Linked DNA regions of Homo sapiens: region 1 is linked to region 2. Evidence: promoter capture Hi-C in human tissues and cell types (Jung and others, 2019). All regions are on one chromosome and are shown on one strand. Each heading gives the region's core, a stretch centred on a gene start or on the middle of the fragment in contact. The rest is flanking DNA. Distances are from core to core; before and after follow the strand shown.

Evidence for each region. Contacts are between HindIII fragments. The study calls those that stand out against the background at their distance.
Region 1: a contact is called between a fragment that was not itself captured here and the fragment with the promoter of C14orf93 in region 2, in 1 of the 25 tissues and cell types used here (hippocampus).

What each region holds. Positions count from the first base shown.
Region 1 is chr14:23,478,812-23,484,732 of GRCh38, reverse strand. It overlaps a transcript of NGDN not described here. Among named protein-coding and RNA genes, the nearest start is that of NGDN, 12 kb to the right of the region's middle. RefSeq lists enhancers at 1,148-1,904, 1,905-2,662. The HindIII fragment of the contact is 5,158 bases long and covers 1,566-5,921 here.
Region 2 is chr14:23,006,830-23,012,599 of GRCh38, reverse strand. C14orf93 (chromosome 14 open reading frame 93) reads left to right here and starts at 2,457. Exons shown (of 7, transcript NM_021944.4): 1 at 2,457-2,499. It overlaps LOC124903286 (a long non-coding RNA gene), which reads right to left. Exons shown (of 2, transcript XR_007064075.1): 2 at 3,616-5,770. RefSeq lists silencers at 2,119-2,468, 5,380-5,429 and enhancers at 4,096-4,656, 5,590-5,770. The HindIII fragment of the contact is 12,898 bases long and covers 1-5,672 here.

The DNA.
Region 1 (5,921 bases), core at 2,895-5,394, 470 kb before region 2:
TACACATGCTGAGGAAATGGAAGCCAGCCATTCTAGGACTGCCACTTAAGCTAAGGAAGATCTCCTCCCACCAGGGAATCAAGGAAAGAGGTCCATATTGTGGCCTATTCCTAGTATATACAGAAGTCAGACTCAGCACTACCATCCAGGGAGTAACTGGATGCTACTAATTCATAAAGAATAATCCAATAAGAGAAAAATTAGCCATCCTAGAAATTGGATAACTTTACAATAAAAAACACTGCTGAATTAGCTGGTTGTGGGGTACTGGTCTCACAATGAAAGGTCTCCAAAATAAAGTTAAGAAGCGAGATGAGGCAAGAGCTAACAGTCTAAAGAGTTTGGGCATATTCTGGAAAGGCTAAGCAATACAGGGCACTGTGGGCTGAATGGGGCAACCAGGTAAATTCAGCTGTGATAAAGGAACAACATGGAATGACAAAAAAAGGAGGCAGACTACAAGAGTGAGCCAAGGTCCTGCAGCCAGAATTGTGCTCAGCAGTGACCAGAGAGCCAGGATGTCCATCACATAAGTGTCACAACTGTCCTGGAAAGAACCTTCTGAGGACACAAAAGATCAGTAACAGGACATCTCCTCCAGTCTTCAAAACACAGGATAACGAAAGTAGAGGTATCCTTAGCAATCTAATCCAAAAGTTTCTGGATGAGCCATTATTATCTGAATTCTTGCTATTCCCTAGCTCCCATTTTCCCAGCATGTAGAACCCAAATCTGTAGATTCAGATAACACAGGATCGATCGCTTGCCAAGTGAACTCTCCTTATCCAAATCCAGGAACTGAATAGATGCAGACAGCAAAGGATATCTTCTGTCTCCCATCATGTTTCCCCTGTAGAGCCTCGTCATTCTCCCACCTACTCTTCGGTACTGACCCCTCAGTTCTCCTCACCCTGTTCTCTTCTAAGCCACCCTCATCTACAGCCCCCTTTCATTGGGAGAGTCATCTGTAAGATGTCAGGGGTAGAACAGATAACGAAAAAGGGAGTAGGGAAGAGTGTAGATTTCAGGTAGGGAAGTGAGATGGAGATCCTGCAGACAGAGAAAGAGAGAGACAGAAAGCAAGAGAGCCGGAGCTGGGGGAGGGGAAGAAGATGGCACTGCGGAAAAAAGAGCGCCACAAAATTAATTTGAGGAAGGGAACAGTAGAGGAGACGTTGGTGGAATAACAATCAGGCAGTAGAGGGCTGGGGAAAGGGGGAGGGCGACAGGGTGGGGAGGAATGATGTTGGCCGGGAGGGCCCTGCCTGCAGAGCAACAGCAGCACCACCTATGGGTATGGTGAAGGGCTACAGGCTGCAACAAAAGAGGTTCCCGCCTAGGCATGGGAGTCTGGGGTGCAGGTGGGGAGGAAGAAGCCATGGCTTTTGCCATTCAAATCTCTTGGTTACACAACATGCAGGCTAGAAGAATAAATAGTATATGGCTTTCCTGGGAAGAGAGGGACTTAAGGTAAGGGAGGGAAGACAGAGAACTCCTGGCTTTTTCCATTACAAGGGGGTTTCCCCTTCAGAATTCAGGCAGTAGAAAAGAGAAGAATATGAAGAGGGAGGAACACCAGGTACTGAAAGGAATGTGAGCACCTGCTTATTTCATTACCTGGAGAAAGGATTTTTATCTTTATTTCCAAGTGATTTCCTCTCCCCACTGGATATAAGAGAATACAGCTGCCTCCCTGGGGCCATGAATGCCCCTCACTCAGCTGCTTCCTCCCAGCACTGCCTCAAAACTCCCAACCACCATTAGAAACCCCCAGGGAGCCACCAAGGTCTAAGAAGGAAAGAAGGGAAGGGTTCCCCCCACCAAACAGACCAAGTGGGGGAGGACAGGGTGGAATGAAAGAGAGAATGCAAAAGCTCTGCAGAGGGAGGGGAGAGAGAAATGTGATCAGTAGTATTTGTTGTGCTTCCAGGGAGGAAGGATCTGTCACATTTTTAATAATAATAAATACATGAAGACAGATTTGCCAGCACTGCTCTGGCTTCTTGGGAAGTGTGGGGGAGGGGAAGTAATGCAGCTGCAGCACACACCAATATCTCCCCCTCCCCTCCCCCATTAGATAGGCTCAGTATTGCAGCAGCCTCCCCCTCCCCCTCTAACCGCAGTCCTCCCCTTCACAGCCCACCCTTTCCACGGTCCCGTCACACAGTTCTGCCCCTCCTTCCCCTACTTGTATCTCTACTCACTCCAACCCCACTCTGTCCTTTCAGTGCTGGTCCTCATTTAACACATGCTTACTCTAGCTGGAAGAAACCTTAGCACCTACATCTTAGATGAATGAATCTGTTCCCCCAATCCTGAGGCTCTGCTGTTTCCAATCAGTGCCCTTCACTAGCTGACAGCAATCTTCCCCTACACCCCACACAACACTCCCACAGATGTAATCCAGCACATTTCAGCATTTCCTGGATTCCACCAAAAAGGATTGCTTTTCTCCCCGTTTTAATCTCAATGTGACCTCCTTTCTCACATCCTTCCTTAAATATAATGGCCATCAAATGTGTTTGTGTTTAGGGGGTGTCAGGGCCTCAGGACTCAGTGACTACTGCCACCTATTGACCCAAGTTTGTTCACGATAGACCTTTAATACACTTCTTACACAGCGACGCTCTGTCATCTCAAAAGCATCAATAGCTTAAACATGCAAAGGCATGGCTCTGGGGGCTTCTCTGAGACCCTCTGAACAATGAGATCAAAGAAACACAAAAGCAAGACTGGGCAGAGAGCCAGAGCATTGATGCCTTTCCTCATGCAGAGGCAGAAAACGAGGCCCAAGGAATGAAAAAGCAACTTTAAGTCCCCTCAAGGTTCTCTAAGCAAAGATGAGTAGGGAACAGAGTTTTTCTTAAGGGCTGGTAAAAATTTCATGTATCATAATATAAATGATAAATGATGTTACCAATGGAGCAGGAGGCAGGATTCCACTCACATACCTCCATCAAGTTAGCCAAATCCTTGGCATGAATCTGGGATTTATGGACCTAAAAGATTCCAGGGAGGATGGGGGACACTCAGGGGTGTGTTTGACTCTCATCCAATCTGTACCAATCAGAACTGGAGACTGGACAAACTGGGCTCTGAAAAAGGGCAGGTCTACACCACGCAGCTCTATGGTTTAGCTGTGTCCCATTCACCAAACCAAGGAATGAGGAGCGTTTGAACTCTCCATGGTGCTGAAAATTGACACACTAATAATCTCCCCTGCAAACAAAACACAGTTTTCCTAATAAGGTATCTATGAAGACTGTTGTGAATTCCCAATAGACATTTCCCCAAGCCTTCATAAAATCCTAACAAAACAATGATTTTAAGGCAAAGACAGACCTTGGTCAAACTCTCTTCCCTGTCCCCTAAGATGAAAAGAATGAGGCAGAGATGTAAATTACTTCTACAGAATAAAGCTATCACATGACAAAACCATCACATGATAAAACCAAACAGGTAAGGTGCTCATGTGTGCATTAATGACAGCTATTACTTAGTGAACACCAGAAATGATCTGTTGTCAGCAATACACTGAGGAAATCCGATATTCATATGGTCTGAATAATCAGATAACTGAATCTATTAGTAGGAATAAGGGAAAGAAAAAAAGTGACCAGAACAGCCATAACGAAATCCTAAAATTCTAGTTCTTAGTTCCCTTGTTCTACTACCCTAACAGTTGTTTTCAAACTATATTCTAAGGAATTCTAAAGGTTCCTTGGGGGCTCCTCAGGAATCTTGGGGAAAGGGGGTCATAAGAACATGGAACTTCAGGACCCCTCATTCCCACTTCAATCAAAGTAACCCCACTTATGCTTGTTTTACATATTGAGAATCCATGTAATACTCCATCAAACAATACACTCTAAACAGTGTTTGATGACTCTGGTACAAATATTCTCAGAAATAGTTCAACTTTTTACCAGAAACTTCTTTCAAATAATGCCTAAAAGCCAGGGAAAACAAAATGTCCTGGGATTAAAGACTTGATTGAATTAATATAAGGTCCACAAAGGCAGGGATTTTGTCTGCTGTGTTCACTGGTATACCACAAAGAGACCAGAATTGTGGAACTTAGGGTTTCTTTGAAGACGAGGCCTGTAACAGAAATGGGGCAGTAGGGCGGGGGAGCTAGATTATAAACCACCTACAAATAAAAAAAGATTTTTTAACCCTGAAGATTTTCATGAACCACAGGACACTTGAAGTCCTCCATCCTCAGTGTTCCCCAAGCACTGGTTCTCCAACTCAGGAAAAATTGTTTGCCCTAAGTGTCTAAGCTTCCTCACTAGTAAAATGGAGATTTCATAAATTTTATAAGGATTGCCAGGCGTGGTGGCTCATACCTGTAATCCCAGCACTTTGGGAGGCCAAGGTGGGTGGATCACGAGGTCAGGAGATTGAGACTATCCCGGCTAACACAGTGAAACCCTGTCTCCACTAAAATACAAAAAATTAGCCAGGTGTGGTGGCACGTGGCTATAGTCCCAGCTACTCAGGAGGCTGAGACAGGAGAATCGCTTGAACCCAGGAGGCAGAGGTTGCAGTCAGCGGAGATCACGCCACTGCACTCCAGCCTGGGCAACAGAGTGAGACTCCATCTCAAAAAAAAAAAAAAAAATTTATAAGGATTAAGTATAAAGCACTTAGCTCAGCCTATAGCACAGGAATTTTTTTTTTTTTTTTGATGGGTCTTACTATCATTCAGTCTGGAATGCAGTGGTAAGATCATAGCTCACAGCAAGCTCAAACTCCAGGGCTTAGGCAATACCCCTGCCTCAGTCTCCCAAGCAGCTGGGACTACAGACACACGCCACCACACCTGCCTAATTTTTTTATTTTTATTTTTTTTTAGAGACAGGGTCTTGTTGTGTTAAACATGCTGGTCTTGAACTCTCTGGCCTCAAACTATCCTCCTGACCCAGCCTCCCAAAGTGTCCAGATTATAGATATGAGCCACCACACCTGGCCAGAAGGTAGTACCTGTTTTGTTTTGTTTTGTTTTGTTTTGTTTTTTAAAGAGCACTTCCCTTCCCCTGGAAGTTCCCATAATCCACAAATCTTAATAAATTAGAAACAAATATAGTGGTCCTAACAAGCAAATGAAGTGGTTTTAACTAAAGTATTTTTGAACTGAATCACTCATCTAGTTAGTTCAGCCATAAAGGAAAAAAAGTCTCTAAATCTGTTCTTGTGGCTCTTTGTTTAGATTCCCTTGAGGAAACAGAAGTATGAGAGCCCAGGGCATGTGAGACTCTCTCAGATCTATCAGGGACTAAAGGTTAGCGGCCCCAGACATAAGCCCATCTTGGTGTCATGCACAAAAGCTCTAGGCTCTTTGACTTGAAGGGAATCTCACAGATGAAGTCTAATACATTCCTTAGCTGAGGAAAATTAAAGGCCAGGGATATTAAGTGATTTGCCCAAGATCACAGAATTAGCCTAAGACAGCCATAGGTCCAGTCTCCTAACTACTTTCTACCAAGCGGCAGCTGAGTGAAAGACCCCTGCCCCAATCAGGCTGAATAGTATAAATCCAAATTCAGAAATTCAGAATCAACGAGGTTTTAGTCATATAACCCAAATTAATTTGTCTATCGATATAACCCAGCAATACTAGACATTAAAATCAGATGTTCATGAGACCCAAAGCCTTTTTTAAAAACTCCAATGAATTAATTCTACAGACCCAACTTCTATCTTTTTTTAATCCCTTTTTTCACTTTCTGTATTATCCAAGGCCTGTGGGACATCTCACCAACAGAGGTTATTCTCTCATTAGAATACAAGATCTCAGATGTATAACGCCCACCAGTCTCCTGGCTTGAGTTTGGCTAATTATTTCTGTGGGATTTTCATTTGTTTGGCTGTTAAGCTAGGAATGTTCTGCTTGTCTGCTGGCATTTTTTTTTTTTTTT
Region 2 (5,770 bases), core at 1,208-3,707:
GGGGTTTCACCATGTTGGCCAGGCTGGTCTTGAACTCCTGACCTCAGGTGATTTGCCTGCCTCATCCTCCCAAAGTGCTGGGATTACAGGCGTGAGCCACCACACCCGGCCTTATTATTTTATTATTATTATTTTTTGAGATGGAGTCTCGCTCTGTCCTCCAGCCTGGAGTGCAGTGGCGCAATCTTGGCTCACTGCAACCTCTGCCTCCTGGGTTCAAGCAATTCTCCTACCTCAGCCTCCCAAGTAGCTGGGACTACAGGTGCGCATTACGATGCCCAGCTAACTTTTTGTATTTTTAGCAGAGACGGGGTTTCACCATGTTGGTCAGTCTGGTCTCGAACTCCTGACCTCGTGATCCGCCTGCCTGGACGACAGAGAAAGACTCTGTCTCGAAAAATAAAAAATAAAAAAAAAAAATAATAATAATAATACCTAAATTGATGCACATAAAGTGTTCAGAACAGTTACTTCCTGCACAATAAGTGTTCACAAATTGCTACTTACTATAGAAGGGAAATTCTTGTGAGATGTGAGTTTCAGAATCTGTGTTTTAGCTAGAAAAGAAATTCACTTATTTGATCATAAATGATTTTTGGCCCGGCATGGTGGCTCACGCCTGTAATCCCAGCACTTTGGGAGGCTGAGGCTGGTGGATCACGAGGTCAAGAGATCCAGACCATCCTGACTAACACGGTGAAACCCCGTCTCTACTAAAAATACAAAAAATTAGCCAGACTTGGTGGCGGGCGCCTGTAGTCCCAGCTACTCGGGAGGCTGGGGCAGGAGAATGGCGTGAACCTGGGAGGTGGAGCTTGCAGTGAGCCGAGATCGGGCCACTGCACTCCAGCCTGGGCGACAGAGCGAGACTCCAGCTCAAAAATAAATATAAATAAATAAATGATTTTTTTGGTCAGTGTTTACTAAATATCTACAATTATGCCAGCTACTGCAGTAAGAATCAAACAGTTCCTGGATGGAAAAACAATTTTAAGATATGATCACTGACCTCAAACAGTTTACTGGAGTGAAATTACTAAAATATGTGAATCAAGGTAGAGTTACGTGCCGCTAACTGGAGTACACATGAAATTCATGTTGATGGGAGCGGAGAGAAGGAAGTAAGCAGTCTGTGCTGAAAGAGAATGGATAAAAATTGACCAGTCAGGGAAGGGGAGACGCATAATTCAGGCCAAAAAAAAAAAAAAAAGCCACTTGAGTAAAGGAATAATACAAGATTGATAAGACGAGCGTAGAGGGAACTAAGAACAAATATGTGCCCAGGCGCGGTGGCTCACGCCTGTAATCCCAGCACTTTGGGAGGCCAAGGCGGGAGGATAACTTGAGGTCAAGAGCTCAAAACCAGCCTGGCCAACATGGTGAAACCCCGTCACTACTTAAAAAAAAAAAATAGCCGGGCGTGGTGGCATATATCCGTAATCCCAGCTACTCGGGAGGCTGAGGCAGGAGAATCGCTTGAGCCTCGGAGGTGGGGGTTGCAGTGAGCCGAGATCACATCACTGAAAAAAAAAAAAAAAAGGCAGGGTGGGCACATCACCTCAAGTCAGGAGTTCAGGACCAGCCTGGCCAACATGGCGAAACCCTGTCTCTACCAAAAACAAAAAAAATTAGCTGGGTGCAGTGGCGCACGCCTGTAGTCCCAGCTTCTTGGGAGGCTGAGGCAGGAGAATCGCTTGGGCGGGGTGGGGGTGGGGGTGGGGGTGGGGGCGGAGGGGCGGAGTTTACAGTGAGCGAAGATCATACCACTGCACTCCAGCCTGGGTGACAGAGCGAGACTCTGTCTAAATAAATAAATAAATAACAAATAGGTGGGTGGGACCAGATTATGGGTGGCTTAAAATCCAGGTATACCAGCTGTCTTCCTGGAAATAAAGAGGAGCCACTTTAGTTTTGAGAATGTGGTCTGAGCCAGGTAGATAAACTGGGAGCTCGGGCTGAAGTGTAAGACTTCAGAAAGATGTTCCATACGTGAATGTTCATTTAAACGTGGGGGTGTTAAGCAACACACGTGACCCAGAGACATTTCACCTGGAAACCGGAGTAGGGCCCACGCACCAAGTCCCTGATGTTTAATTGCAGTCTAGAATGTTACTGACTAGTTCACTCAATTTAACAAAGTGTCCGGAGGTCGCTCACTGGATTGTTATGCTGGTGACTGGGCCTTGTTTCACTGAGAAAAAAAGATGGGAAAGGGTGACAGGACGGTGAGAAAGTGAAAGGGAGAGAGGTGGGAAAGGGGTCTGCCAAGGTCCAGGCGAGGTTGGGGGTCGGGGGTCCGGCGGCCCTCAGGGCCCCCCCCGCCCCCAACTCCGGGGTTGGCGCCTCGGGCGCGGCGCGTGTGCTTGCGGGCGGGGCGCCCCGCGGCCGCGGACGGCCAATCCGGGAGGGCGTCCGGGGAGGGGCGGGGCTTGCCGGCTCGGGCTCCGCGAGTCCTCCTTTTTGCACACACACGAATACAAAGAGCCATACGACCTTCGGGTATCCTTTTTCCATTTTTTTTCCTCCTTAATCTTGTGTGTGTTTTCAAATTTTTTAAAAATAGAGATCTGTAGCAGTGTTGGGGTGAGGAAACTGTTGCTAAGGGGAATTTGCTCTTTCCCCCATTTCTTTTTCTGTCTCTCTTCCTCTTTCTTTTTCCTGGTCAAGGTTTTAAATATACCAAGAAGTTGAGAAGCAGGATGGCCGTGTACAACCGTTTCCGGCCAAATTTATAGTTTTTTTTTCTTTTTTTTAAATCACATTTTAAGAACTGGTAGATTTTTGTGGTTGAGGGACTTTAAAAATTTAGCCGCTTGGGAAGTACAGAATTTTTTAAGCGGGCTGAAGGGATAATGTAAATTTCTGCCACAGGCAACATCGAAGGAAGCAGAGAGATTTGAGGCTCCCTCATAAAGCCGTTTGCGTGCTTTTTACACACCCACCCCCCCAGAACCAAAACCAAGTGGCTGGGATGTGGCACTTGTCCAAGGCCAATAAGTTAATATTGGGATATTATAATGGAGACATTCATTTCCCTAGGGAAGGGGGAAAGACCTTAATTACAGTGTGTCTTTCACACACATTTTCATTAGAACATTTGTGTGTGTGTGTGTGTGTTTCTTGAAACAAATTTGTAAAGTTATAACTTGGGGTTATTTGTGTATATGTACAATATGTGTGTATATGTGCCATATCAGATTTTATTTTCAAAAGTGATAAATATATCTGGTTTTATGTGTGCAAAGTATCCCCTAGGATGTGAATTTTTTTCCGTTGTCTTCCCAAATGTGATCAAAATATTTTGTGTGCAAAGCAGAGCTTAGAAGAAATCCTATGCTTAGCATACTTAGGCACTTTCTATGTGCATTTACTATATTTTTCTGCTCCTAAAGGATCAGAATAATGAATAATTAAATAATTGCCAAGGAGTATATAGTCCATGTGGCAAATGAGAGTAGGCAATTTATTGAATCTGTGGTTCAAAGCCTTCAGTGACTGTTTTGCCTAAGTGGTTTTGCTTTTTATTGTCTCACGTTCTTAAGTGTACAGCTGTGTATATTTTGGCCTTTATGTGTGGTTTGGTTGGTGTGTTCAGAAGGGAAGTTCTTTCTTGGCTTTTTGACAAAATGGTCGTTTATTGGTTGGAATATTCGAAAAGCTCCACAGCTGGCAAAGTATCAGGAAAAAAATCCAGTCAAGTGTAATTCTCAAAAACTGTTCATGGTGATGGTGATGGGGAGCCAAGAGGATGCAAAGGCAAATAATAGAAGGGATAAGAAATGCCTTTTGGTTATCATGTTGCATTTTTAGAATGGAAAGCTTCTCATTTCTAAGAGTCACAGAAAAAAGTATATGAATTAGAGAAAAACAGGCTCGCAGAGCAGAACCTCCTGTTATAGGAGCCCTATTTTCACTTCATTCTGTTACAGAATCACTATCTCCTCATTAGAAGTTGTATGGAAAATATCTGTATCCAAATTTGTATTCGCAGATTGGAGTGAAAGCATAGGAGGTATATGAGGTGCTGAGGGAGAAACTGGAATGTCACAAATGCAGTGACAACCAGGAGACAAAAAAAAAAATCTACTGTAGAATTTAAATTTCATTACAACAAAACTTCTGTATAATAATGCATTTCTATTACACAGCTAGCATCCTACTCTATTTCAAGCAGTATTTGACTCCTAAATACTGACTGCAATAAAGTTACTTGTACAAATTTATAACAAAAGTGGCCCTGTTTGGGCTTTCTGGGTTTCTTACTTGTGCTGAGTGTATTTTTATTCTCTAACAATTCAAGTCAGACCAGTGCTTAATAAATACTGGCTCGACTGTGGATTATTCCACAATTTCAGACCTGCATTTCTTTGAAATCTAGTCACATTTTAGTGATCTTTGTGATCACAACAGTGATGGGAGTTTTTTTTTTTTTTTTTTTTTTTTTTGAAACGGAGTTTCGCTCTTGTTGCCCAGGCTGCAGTGGCAATGGTGCGATCTTGGCTCACTGCAACCTTCGCCTCCTGGGTTCAAGCGATTCTCCTGTCTCGGCCTCCCGAGTAGCTGGGATTACAGGCATGTGCCACCATGCCGGGCTGATTTTTGTATTTTTAGTAGAGACGGGGTTTCACCATGTTGGTCAGGCTGGTCTCCAACTCCTGACTTTAGGTGATCCGCCCGCCTCTGCCTCTCAAAGTGCTGGGATTACAGGCGTGAGCCACCGCGCCCGGCCAGTTACGGGAATTTTTAATGGAGTTTTACCCTTTTTAGCTCTTTTCCACATCACTACAGGTCATCACATATACTTTTTACCTTACTTTTTAGCGTCTCAAAAAATAGGGAGAGCTCTCCCTGAACAGTGCAGAGCCCGTATCCCTGATTTCCTAGGCTATTTGATTTCTACATCCAGGAACGTAGGGTCATATCCACTGTTCTTGCTTTTTCTTCCTAAGAAAGGAGAGAATTCCTCGCACATATATATCGTTGGCTTGGCCTTCCAAAGCAAAGCAAAACTAAACTCTGTTGATTTTGCCTGGGAATCCTCGGGGCCCCTAGTATTGGAAACTTCTTTGAACTGTGAGGAGCTGCTAATTTGCAGGTGACATGTGAAAGAAATGTAACCGAGGCCAGCAGTAACTAAAAGTCGGCCACCACCCAACGTGTGACGCCGATTTGTGGCCACTGTGCTTATAATCGTGTACACACAGGTTTGTGAGCAGCAGAGAACAAAAGCAAGTAAACAAAAACAAGCTAAAGATGGCGTCTGACGGCCTTGAAAAAGCCTCACAGTCTTGTCCCTCCCTGAGGAGGCCCCTCCCCTACCTGACTTTTTGAGTGACTGTTGTTTGCAGCCAATAGTGTCCGTGACCCTGCTCCCCAGCCATCGTCTAACCGCCAATCACCGGGAGCCAGAAGGCAAACGGGGCGGTGTCTCCCCGCGTGCGCGCGGTAGCCGGGTACACGGGCAGGCGCCGCGGATAGTTCTGTCTCCCGCGCGCCCGCCTCCGCCTCTGCCTAGCTGAGTCAGCCCGTGCGGTAGCGCCAGGCACACGCGGTAGAACATCTGTAGGGCTGCAAAGCTGCACCTCCGCGTCAGTTCTCACGGCGAGCGCCGCCTTCAGCCCAAGTTCTCAAAGCTCTCGGGGCTACGTAGTCTACCCTCCCCGGTGACCCGGCGAGATCCCTAGCCGCTCCTCCGGCCGCTCTGCTCTCCGCATCCCTCGCGGGAATGACCCCCTTTACCCGGGACTCCCAGAGCGCACTGTATGGTAGG